3 separate regions of the Homo sapiens genome follow, and all the other regions are linked to region 1. The links are contacts of gene promoters, found by promoter capture Hi-C in blood cells and fetal thymus (Javierre and others, 2016). All regions are on one chromosome and are shown on one strand. The core of a region is centred on a gene start or on the middle of the fragment in contact, and the rest is flanking DNA. Distances in the headings are between cores, read along the strand shown.

Evidence for each region. The method cuts DNA at HindIII sites, captures the fragments that hold promoters and counts their contacts. A CHiCAGO score of 5 or more calls a contact.
Region 2: a fragment that was not itself captured here is called in contact with the fragment with the promoter of IRF4 in region 1 in 1 of 17 cell types (activated CD4 T cells); the score reaches 5.4 in activated CD4 T cells.
Region 3: a contact is called between a fragment that was not itself captured here and the fragment with the promoter of IRF4 in region 1, in 2 of 17 cell types (activated CD4 T cells and non-activated CD4 T cells). The highest score is 10.7, in activated CD4 T cells.

What each region holds. Positions count from the first base shown.
Region 1 is chr6:390,302-393,577 of GRCh38, reverse strand. It overlaps IRF4 (interferon regulatory factor 4), which reads right to left and starts at 1,826. Exons shown (of 9, transcript NM_002460.4): 1 at 1,769-1,826; 2 at 210-480. The coding sequence starts at 425. RefSeq lists silencers at 670-779, 890-939, 1,110-1,159, 1,440-1,509, 1,750-2,139 and 2 more. The HindIII fragment of the contact is 5,232 bases long and covers 1-2,442 here.
Region 2 is chr6:719,060-722,335 of GRCh38, reverse strand. No RefSeq gene overlaps it. Among named protein-coding and RNA genes, the nearest start is that of EXOC2, 28 kb to the right of the region's middle. RefSeq lists a silencer at 154-233. The HindIII fragment of the contact is 3,832 bases long and covers 1-3,276 here.
Region 3 is chr6:680,602-683,877 of GRCh38, reverse strand. All of the region lies in intron 1 of EXOC2 (exocyst complex component 2), which reads left to right. Among named protein-coding and RNA genes, the nearest start is that of EXOC2, 11 kb to the left of the region's middle. The HindIII fragment of the contact is 1,423 bases long and covers 835-2,257 here.

The DNA.
Region 1 (3,276 bases), core at 577-3,076:
GACCCGGCTCCCGGCCCCCGCGGTCCCGCTGAGAGCCGAGGCCTCCTTTCCTCCTCCTGCGGCTCCGGCGACGCCACCTGATGCCTCCGCCGCCCGCCCGTCCGCCCCGCGCGGTCCCCTGGGCTCGCCTCGGAGGCGGCGCCGGGGACCCCGGGCTCTGTCTCTGGGCCCTCCCCGGCGCGCCCCCGCCGGCTCCCGAGGCCGGAGACCTTGAAGAGCGCGGCGTCCTCCTCGCGGTTGTAGTCCTGCTTGCCCGCGTGCTTCCAGGGGATGCGGAAGATGCTCTTCTCCTCGTTCTCCCACACCAGCCCGGGGTACTTGCCGCTGTCGATCTGGTCGATCAGCCACTGGCGGAGCTTCCCGTTGCCGCAGCTCACCGCGCTCATGCCGAACTCTCCGCCTCGGCCGCCGCCCTCCAGGTTCATGCCCCGCGTGCCGTCCGCGCCCGCGCCCGGGGTCCTCCGCCCGCTCTGCTCTGCACTGCGGGGAGAAGAGCTGCCCTTCAGCCACGAGGCACCGCACTCCGGGCACCCCGCCCCGATCCCCTGCGCCAGTGACCACGAGGCCCCGGAGTCTTTGAGGCTGCGAAGCGCGCGCGTGCCGTGTCAGGGTCGTCCGGGCCCCCGGAAGAAGGCACCTTCGCGGCCGGCCCGGGCGCATCCCCTGGGCGGGCACAGCCGTCCGCCTTCCGAGCTCGGCCCCCGCGAAGGCTCCTACCCGCCTGCTCTCCTGTAACGCACCCGCAGCCCAAAGGCTCCCGACACGCGCCGCTCGTCTTGCACCCTCTCTCCCCACCCAGCCGCCACCCCTCCTGGCCCTCCTTCCGCACTCACTCGCAGCTCTCGCTTGCCTTCGCTCACTCCCAACCCGCTTCTCGCCCCTTCCCCGCGACTCTGTCAGTTTCCACTCCCCTGGCGGCCTCCACGCGCGGAGGACCTCGCCTGCGGCCGGGCGTTCCAGGGGCGCAGCCCCGGGTTCCTCCACCCTCCGCTTTCTCTGCTCGCATCCAGACCCTTCGCCCCGAATAGGACCCCTATCCCTGCCCAGCTAGCGCGCACTAAGTGGGCTCTGCAAACGACAAGTGGCGCAGACGCGGGGGCTGCAGCCCCAGTACGGGGGATTCCGCGCGCAGAGCGTCCGCCGGACCCCGGAGCAGGCCCGGGAGAGCGGAGGCGGGGAGGGCGCGGGAGAGGGCGACGACAGCTGCGGAGCCTGGGAGGCAGGGACCGCGCCAGGCCGGCTAGGCCACCGCACGCAAGGCTCGGAGCGACCCAAATGTGGAGCTCCTCCTCCTCCTGCGCCAGCGGGTGAGCACCGCGCCGGAGGCCGCCGTGAGCTTGGGCCCCTTAGGAACGAAGAGCAGGGGAAGGAGCCTCGGATTGGGGTCCACAGGGCCGGGCCTGTTTCTCGCAGGCAGTTGTGCCGTCTTGTGTGGGTGCCTTGGACGGCCCCGCCTCAGCCACTCCTGGGGCCCCGACAGTCCGGTTAGCTCATCCCGTCCAGCTTGTGGCGACCCCGTCGCAGGAGCGCGGAGGGCAGGCGGGGAGGCTCGGGCAGAGCCAAGGAGGCGGGCCTTGGAGCCCAAACCAGCGCCTCCGGCTCAGCGCAGATGGGGTGGGAGTCGGAGCTCCAGGACGGGGCGCGCTCCCTTCCCGCTCCGAAGCCGGGGTACCCTGCGCTGCCCTGGAGGTCGAACCTCTGGTTCGCGCTCCGGGTCCTCTCTGGTATCAGCCTCACACCCCTCCTCCTGCCCGACTCCAGCCCTTACCTCGCCCTGGACTCGGAGCTGAGGGCAGCGGTGGGTCCCAAGATCGAGCGGTGAAACTGAGAGTGCGAGGTGGGAAAGAGGAACTTTATAGAACTCTCTGGGGCGGGGCCTGGGGCGGGGCGGGGCGCCGAGGCCTGTGGGGGCCGGGGGTTGGACTGGGGAGAGGGACTTTGCAAGCCGAGAGCCGGGGCCGGCCGGGCGGGCGAGCCTCAGGGCCGGCGTGAAGGCTGGGGGCTGCCGCGGCCGGGGTGGGGTTCCCGCGCCCTTGGCGACCCTCCGCGCGCCGCGCCCGGAGAGCGCACCTCCAGCCGGGCGCGCGCCGCTTCGGGGACTGTCACTGGGGCCGTTTCCCGCGAAGGGCGAGGTGCGAAATGCGAATCTCGCCTTTGCGCCAGGACCTCAGGAGGCCAGTCAATCACTAAACTGCAGCGATGTGGCCAGGGCGGGAAATGGGGGGCGTGTAGTAGCGGGAATCTGGTGCGAAGGGGACTTCGCTTTGCAGAGCGTGTAACGGAAGACGGAGGAATGGTCCAAAGAGAACTGGAGGTGGAGGTTGCGGGAGCACCCTCGGCAAGGCCATCACCGGGAACCCTGCCTCTCCGCGGTGTTTAGAGAACATCGCACTCACTAAAAAGAAAATAGGAAATGGCCCAGCTCCCTTGAGCTATTAAGCTTGATTCAAATACTGTCTCTGCGTGTCTGACATGCTTACATCCTTTTGCATCTATTAGGCTGGTGAATTGAAGTGACTCAGACAATGCCCCGGCCCCGAAGTTTTAATTATCTTAGCATGAAAGAGATGGGGGCGGGGAGAGGCTCCCTAAGGATCCAAGTGCTTAATCACTTCCAGACTTCAGTTCACCTTAAAATGATGTCGTTTTAACCTCAACCTGGAGGAAAGCAGTTTACCAGTGGGGTATAAAAGCCCAAAATAGGCCAGGCGCTGTGGCTCAAGCCTGTAATCCCAGCACTTTGGGAGGCCGAGGCGGTGGATCGCCTGAGGTCAGGAGTTCGAGACCAGCCTGGCCAACACGGTGAAACCCCATCTCTACTAAAAATACAAAAATTAGCCGGGCGTGGCCCCAGCTACTTGAGAGGACGAGCCACGAGAATCGCTTGAACCCGGGAGGCTGAAGTTGCAGTGAGCCGAGGTGGGCGACAGAGCAAGACTCCATCTCAAAATAAATAAATAAAAGCCCAAAATAGGAATAATACTTAAGTGGACCAGGGATTTTACATACTTTTCCAAGATGTCCTTAATCGCAAAATTAACCCCCTGAGCTTTCACCCGTTGAGCTTTCGATCGTCTGAGATGCTGAGTATGTGCATTTACTTCGCATTTTCAGGTAAACCATCAGATCTCTGGTTTCTATATGATTTTAGACCACCACCACCGTAGGTCAACCTGCAACTTTTGAAAAGCTTTTGATTTCACTTATTTCTCAGTTTTTGTTTTAATCTTATATATTGGGTCAATGTCTCCTAACCAAAGAAGAATCTATGTTTAG
Region 2 (3,276 bases), core at 579-3,078, 330 kb before region 1:
CTTTTTGATCATTACCCTTAAATTCGCTGCCTAGGAAACAGCAACAAGTAAGTCATCACTGTTATGAAGCAAAATTGTTTACATTTGGTTTAAGATCCGCCTCCTAAGGAAAGGGCTCCGGCGGCTCCTTTGCGTGCCTGGAGAGGCCTTCGCATGCGCCCTCTAGTGGGTGCTTGGAGCTCATAAGCAAAGGGTCATTTCCAAAGTCTACAGTGGAAATTGACGCTGATTTTCAAATCCAAAAATTGGTCTATCGCTATTCTCCCCAAAAGGGACATTTTTCTTAATCTGCTATAAACATAGTGAAAAGTTGTTACTTCATGGTAAATTATTAGCACGATATTTGAATAGTCATTACATTCATTAAACTATTCTTTAAAATTACAATTATAATGTTAGTACTTGCATTATACATCGTGTTTATATAGTACCATTAAAGTCAAATGGCATTTAATATTCACAGCATAAAAGATAAAAGTATCATATAGTGATATTAGGAGGAAAAATCCTCCTGGTATCATTAGGAGAAAAATTTCTTCTAATGGAAAAAACCTCCATTCCCCAACTTTAGCTTTTTCAGCACCATCACTTGTGCTCCGTGCCTCACCTCACCAGCCGCAGGAGAACCCAGCTCCTTCTGACGGGCCCTGTCTCCTGCACCACCAGTTGGAAGGCTTCATTCCCGGCAGCAGACAAGCAAGGCTTGCTCTAGTTCAGCATAAATAACTCCTTCTTTTACCCCACATCCCTTGGAGATTCCCTACCCCCACTTCTCTACTCTTCTCCACAAAACTTTCCACCTTCTGGCCTCACATTCTCTCTCGAACATGCTCTGGTGAAAGCAGTTTTCATCTTCATGGCTCAGCTAAAATGGCTCTTATCAAAAGCACCAACTACGTTCCTCTGGCCAAATGCAGCGCTCCATCTGGGCCCTTTTCTTACTTCCTAAGTGGTATCTGTGAACGCATTTGCCAATCTCCCTTTCTGTAACATCTAGTACTAACATCATGTGACACATAACAAAATTTTGGTCAATGAGAGACTGCATCTATGATGGTGGGCCCATAAGACAATAAGATACCATATTTTTACTCTACCTTTCCATGTTAAGATACACAAACACCATTGTGTCACAACTGCACATGCTGTGCAGGTTTGTAGCCTAGGAGCAATAGGCTATACTAGAAGTGTCCAATCTTTTGGCTTCCCTGGGCCACACTGGAAGAAGGATTGTCTTGGGTCACACATAAAATACACTAACACTAATGATAGCTGGTGAGCTAAAAAAAAAAAAATTGAAAAAAAATATGTGTTAAGAAAGTTTACAAGTTTGTGTTGGGCTGCATTCAAAGCCATCCTGGGCCACAAGTGGCCTGCAGCCAGCAGGTTGGACAAGCTAGTGCTGTATCAGGTTTGTGCAAGTTCACTCTTTGATGTTCACAAAATGACAAAACCTGTAAATGATGAATTTCTCGGAGTGTGTCCCCATCGTTAAGTAACGCATGACTGCATCGGAAACTTACCCAAGCTAAACTGTAACTCTAAATCGGCACACCCAAACCTGCTTCTCTCAGTCCATGTCACCACCGTCCTCCTGGACACTTAATGCCCCTCTTTCACTCACAAACATATTCCACCTAATAGCAAATCCCAGCAGCTTAACTGCCAAAAGAAACTCTGAGCCTTCCATCCCCTGCCGATTCCTATTGCTGACACCCCAGTGTAGCAGCAACACCTCCACCCTCAGCAGCTAGGACCACCTTAAAATAGAGATAAAATCTTATCATCTCCCAGTTCACAACCCCCCAGAGGCCACCAGTCTAATTAGGATGAAACACACCTCCCATGGCCAACAAGATGCTATATCTAGCGCTTCTCAGTCCACAACACCTGAAATCCCTCTGACCCTGCCTGTAGGCTCCACCCATCTTATCTACTTTGCAAGAGCAGTTTCCTCTACATGGGATGTTATTCCCCTGCATGGCCAGCTACCTCTCATCTTTCATATCCCAGGAGTCCCGTCACTTCCTCTGTCCACTTATCTGACCATGCTACCAGAAGCACCCCTTCCCACCATCCCACTGCCCCTTTCAGAATCTTCATAGCACCCCTTTTCATCCTAAATCATCTCATTAACTTATGCCTATGTTTAAGTGTCTCCACTCACCAGGATAGAAGCTCAACAAAGTCAGAGATATATTTGTGCTCATTCAACATGATTGAGCAAATCAATGAATGAATAAATTCCACTTCTTGTGCGTGGCCAAGTGGCCAGCTCACTGCAGTGGCTGCTGGGGCTCCCTCTTCCCAGCGTGTCTCTGGGTTTACAGCTTGTTTCTGTCTTTCAACACTCCTGTGGTGCTTAGGAACCTGCACCCGTAGTGAGCATCCTCTTCATATTTTCTCCAGTTCTCCAACAGGTGAAGTGCCCTAAAGGGAAGCTCTGACTCCAATTAATCCTATTCCTGGCTCTGGTCCTAAGACAGATGACTTGGAAAGAGTGTAGGGAATGGGTTGATTAGGGCAGACATGAAACCAATATGAAGACTTTTCTAATGGTGCAGGAAGAAGGTAGTGAGTGCCTGAATGAGGGCACCGACAGTGGGGTTGCTGGAGAGGGAAGAGATTAAAGAGATACCATGATTAAAGAGATTAAAGAACATCATTCAAATAGGTATGTGAGGTTAAGTGTATTAGTCAGCTCCAGCTGCTGTGACAAAGTACCAGAGACAGGTTGGCTTAAACAACACGTTTTTGAGTTTCAGAGGCCGCAAGTCAGTGATCGAGATCAAGATCGGCATGCCTGGTTTCTTCTGAGACCTCTCCTTGTCTTGCAGATGGCGCCCCTTGCTGTGTCCTCCCATGGCCCTCATGCCTCTCTCTCTTCTTATAAGGACATCAGTCCTGTTGGATCAAGGCCCTACCCTTCCAATCTCATTTAACCTTGGTTATCTCCTTATAGGTCCCATCTCCACATACAGTCACATACTTCAACATGTGAATGTTGGGAAGACGCAATTAAGTCCATAAAGGAAGGGACAGGTTAAGAAGCATTAGTGGGCCAGGCGCGGTGACTCACGCCTGTAATCCCAGCACTTTGGGAGGCCGAGGTGGGTGGATCACCTGAGGTCAGGAGTTCGAGACCATCCTGGCCAACATGGTGAAACCCCCTCTCTATTAAAAATACAAAAAGTTAGCCGGGCGTAGTGGTGGGTGCCCGTAATCCCAGCTACTCAGGAGGCTGAGACAGGACAATCGCTTGAACCTGGAAGGTGG
Region 3 (3,276 bases), core at 297-2,796, 290 kb before region 1:
GCCTGCTTAATCCCTCACGGCTCAGAAATGTTAACGGCACTGTTGAGTGCTGTGATTATTTTGCTTTCACTATGTCAAGATTTATGGCCTTCGAGAAGCTTCTTTTGAGATAGAGCTAGAGAAGGAAAGCAGAATTTGTAAGATCAGTGACAAAGTTGATGTATTTTTGGAAATTGGAAAAGCTATTATACAAAATTTGGGTCAAATTAATCCAACTTTGCTCATATAAAAGAACCTGGGAGTTAGCGACATCCTGTCATGTTTAACAGTTTTAATGAAATTAACCAATTTAAGCTGACGGTTGGTTTCTTGACCTTTTCTGAAACTCTGCATTGATTTTGGCATGCCTGTTTACCATAGTTATTATATTTGTCAGCGGTGATATTGGTTTATTTCATCCTAAAGATTTGACAAGTCGAGACAAATGAAACTTTGTTTTTATGTAGTAGTATAAATTTAGGAGAATATCTTTTTATCCAATCCTTTCATTATGAATAGCTTAGTAATATTTTCTTGATTTTGTTCCTCTCTCATTCCTGAACATTATTGTTGAGATGGTCAAGTATTTTGTTATTTGAATAAACATATGTAGACTCTTGATATCACTTGGGATTTTGCATTGTTTAGCTTCTTTATTTTCATGTCTTCCTGGCAGTCTTGCTGGAATGGAGTTGGTGGTGTTGATGTTTGTCAAGGATTAGAAAGTCTAGGCCACTCACATCTTCCCGCAAGGTCAGTCTGTTTAGCTTGGAGTTGTTCTGCTGCTTTATTTGCTACTCTTCACCCTGGGTTTCAGTACCTGAGCTCTGTTTCCATCACTGCGAGGGTAAAGCTTTCTCCTACCCTCCTGGTACCTTTTCACTCCTCGCCCTGGTGTACCTTTGCCTCAACTGATCTGGAATCAGACTTCAGGAATTTAGTCATGTTGGGCACTTTTTAAAAAATGATACCATCCTGTATTTCTTTTTGTGTTCAGTTTTTTGGGGTTCTGTGTTTATGGTGCTAATGATGTTAAACTAATGCTCAGAGGAATTCTGAAGCACAGTTATTCACAAAGTTGTACAACCATCACCATTATCTAAGTCCAGAACAGTTTCATCACACCCGGAGAAAACCCTGAATCCATTATCAATCCTTTCCCACTTTCTGCATCCATGGATTTACTTATTCTGAACTTTCATATAAGTGGAATCATATATGTGGCCTTTTATGTCAATTATGACATAATATATGCATAATATTGTTAGTCATTACTGTATGACTTTTACCTAGGAAGTGAAAATTCTTTGGAGAGAGAGAGAGAGGAAAAAATACTGATAAATGATGGTTATAGTTAAGTAATCATGTGTGGAAATGAACTTGTATTTTAGAAACTCGGGGCCGGGCGCGGTGGCTCACACCTGTAATCCCAGCACTTTGAGAGGCCAAGGCGGGCAGATCACGAGGTCAGGAGATCTAGACCATCCTGGCTAACACAGAGAAACCCTGTCTCTACTAAAAATACAAAAAAATTAGCCGGGCGTGGTAGTGGTTGCCTGTAGTCCCAGCTATTCGGGAGGCTGAGGCAGGAGAATGGCATGAACCCGGAAGGCAGAGCTTGCAGTGACCCCAGATCCTGCCACTGCACTCCAGCATGGGTGACAGAGCGAGACTCCGTCTCAAAAAAAAAAAAAAAAAAGAAACTGGGAAATATTTAATAGGAACTGCGGAATGGTCAAGGCTTGTGTTGGATAGAAGTGCCCTATGTGTGACTGGCTGTTAGTCACCAGCACTTTTCTGCAGTGCTGTGTCATGCAGGTTCCTGTTCCCAGCCCTTCTGGAGTTTCACCAATGCCGGTGCTAATTGGTTGTTTAAAATTCGATGTAGAACTCTAAATGAATAAATCCTGACTGAACAGATTCCCTCCATTTCTACCTTAGCTTTTACTGGGCAAAATCCTCCAGGAGTTAGCAGTGAGCAGGAAAAGGACCAGGGTTTTGCTCTCTGGTAACTAAAGGGGGAATTATCCTCCAGAGCAGTTGATTCTCTTGCAAGGGCAGAGAAGCAAAGTATCTGTAGAACCACAGTACCTTGACAGCACTTTAAAAACCCTATTTCCAAGTGCATTTCTGTGAAAACAAGGTTATCTTTAAGAAAAAGATTACTACCTTTATTTGCACTTTTCATTAGAACTGAAAAGTTAGAATTGTTTTATATATTCTCAGTACTATCCCATTCTCTTTTATGGCTGGATTTTTTAAATGGAAAAATCAAGCTTAAATGAGTTTTGGCCTAGTTTTTATAGGACTAAAGGATAGTTGAAAAACAAGTTTCTCTGGTAACTTTCATTATAAATATCTTAGTAATATTTTAAAATTTATTAGGGGCAAAACTCATTTTGGTTTAAACATTTAAAATACTTCTTTGGTGGGGGGAGAAAGGAGACACAGCATTAAAGATCTGCACCTACAAATTAGAATTTCTGGTTTTCGTGTAATTCTGTGTGGAAGCAGTAATAGAATATCAAACTTTTCACCTCTTGGACCTTTCAGTTAAAGGTCAGATTTGAACTGGACCTCTTGTCACCCAGAGGTGACCGATAGAAAAGGAGTTGTTCTGCTTAGATGTTTGGTTAATTTGGATTTATCTGATTGTTTTCCTTAGCATGAATTGTATTGAAGATCAGGAGGAGCTGTCACAGGTTGATTGTGACCTTTTAGGATGTAATTAGGGCACTCAGGTTTTATAGTGGTTTTGGCAGTTGCTCTTGTGACCAGATTTATTGGTTTAAAAGACAGTGCATGGCACACAGTACAGAATCAAGGAATGGCATCTGTCCTGTGAAACAAATCTAGCTGACACCCCTCTCAGAAGCCGCATCTTATAGCTTCTTATGGCAGGAATTTCACACAGCCTTTTGAGGTCTCTGCTGCTGTTGTTGAGGAGATGAAAGAAGAGCCCGTGCATCCCCAGATCTGGTCAGCCCGGCCACCGTTTCACTGAGTGTCTGGCACTGGACTAGACACTAGAGTGAAGAAAGAATATGATGACAAGCCCAGGCAAGCCCACTGAAGATTGCTGGCAGAGAGCTTGGCACAGTAACTTTTTTTCATCCCTTTTTCTTTAATGTAAAGGATACTATCATTTGTTATAATCACTTTCTTAAGATAGTTAATTTACAGGAGAAATGAGCACCACCCCCAGCCCAAAAAAATGCATATAACTCAGAGCTGCCAAGAGGAAGCCTCATGTGGTCAGCGTTCTTAAGGAGACCCTCTGCTGCCTGGATCTCCAGC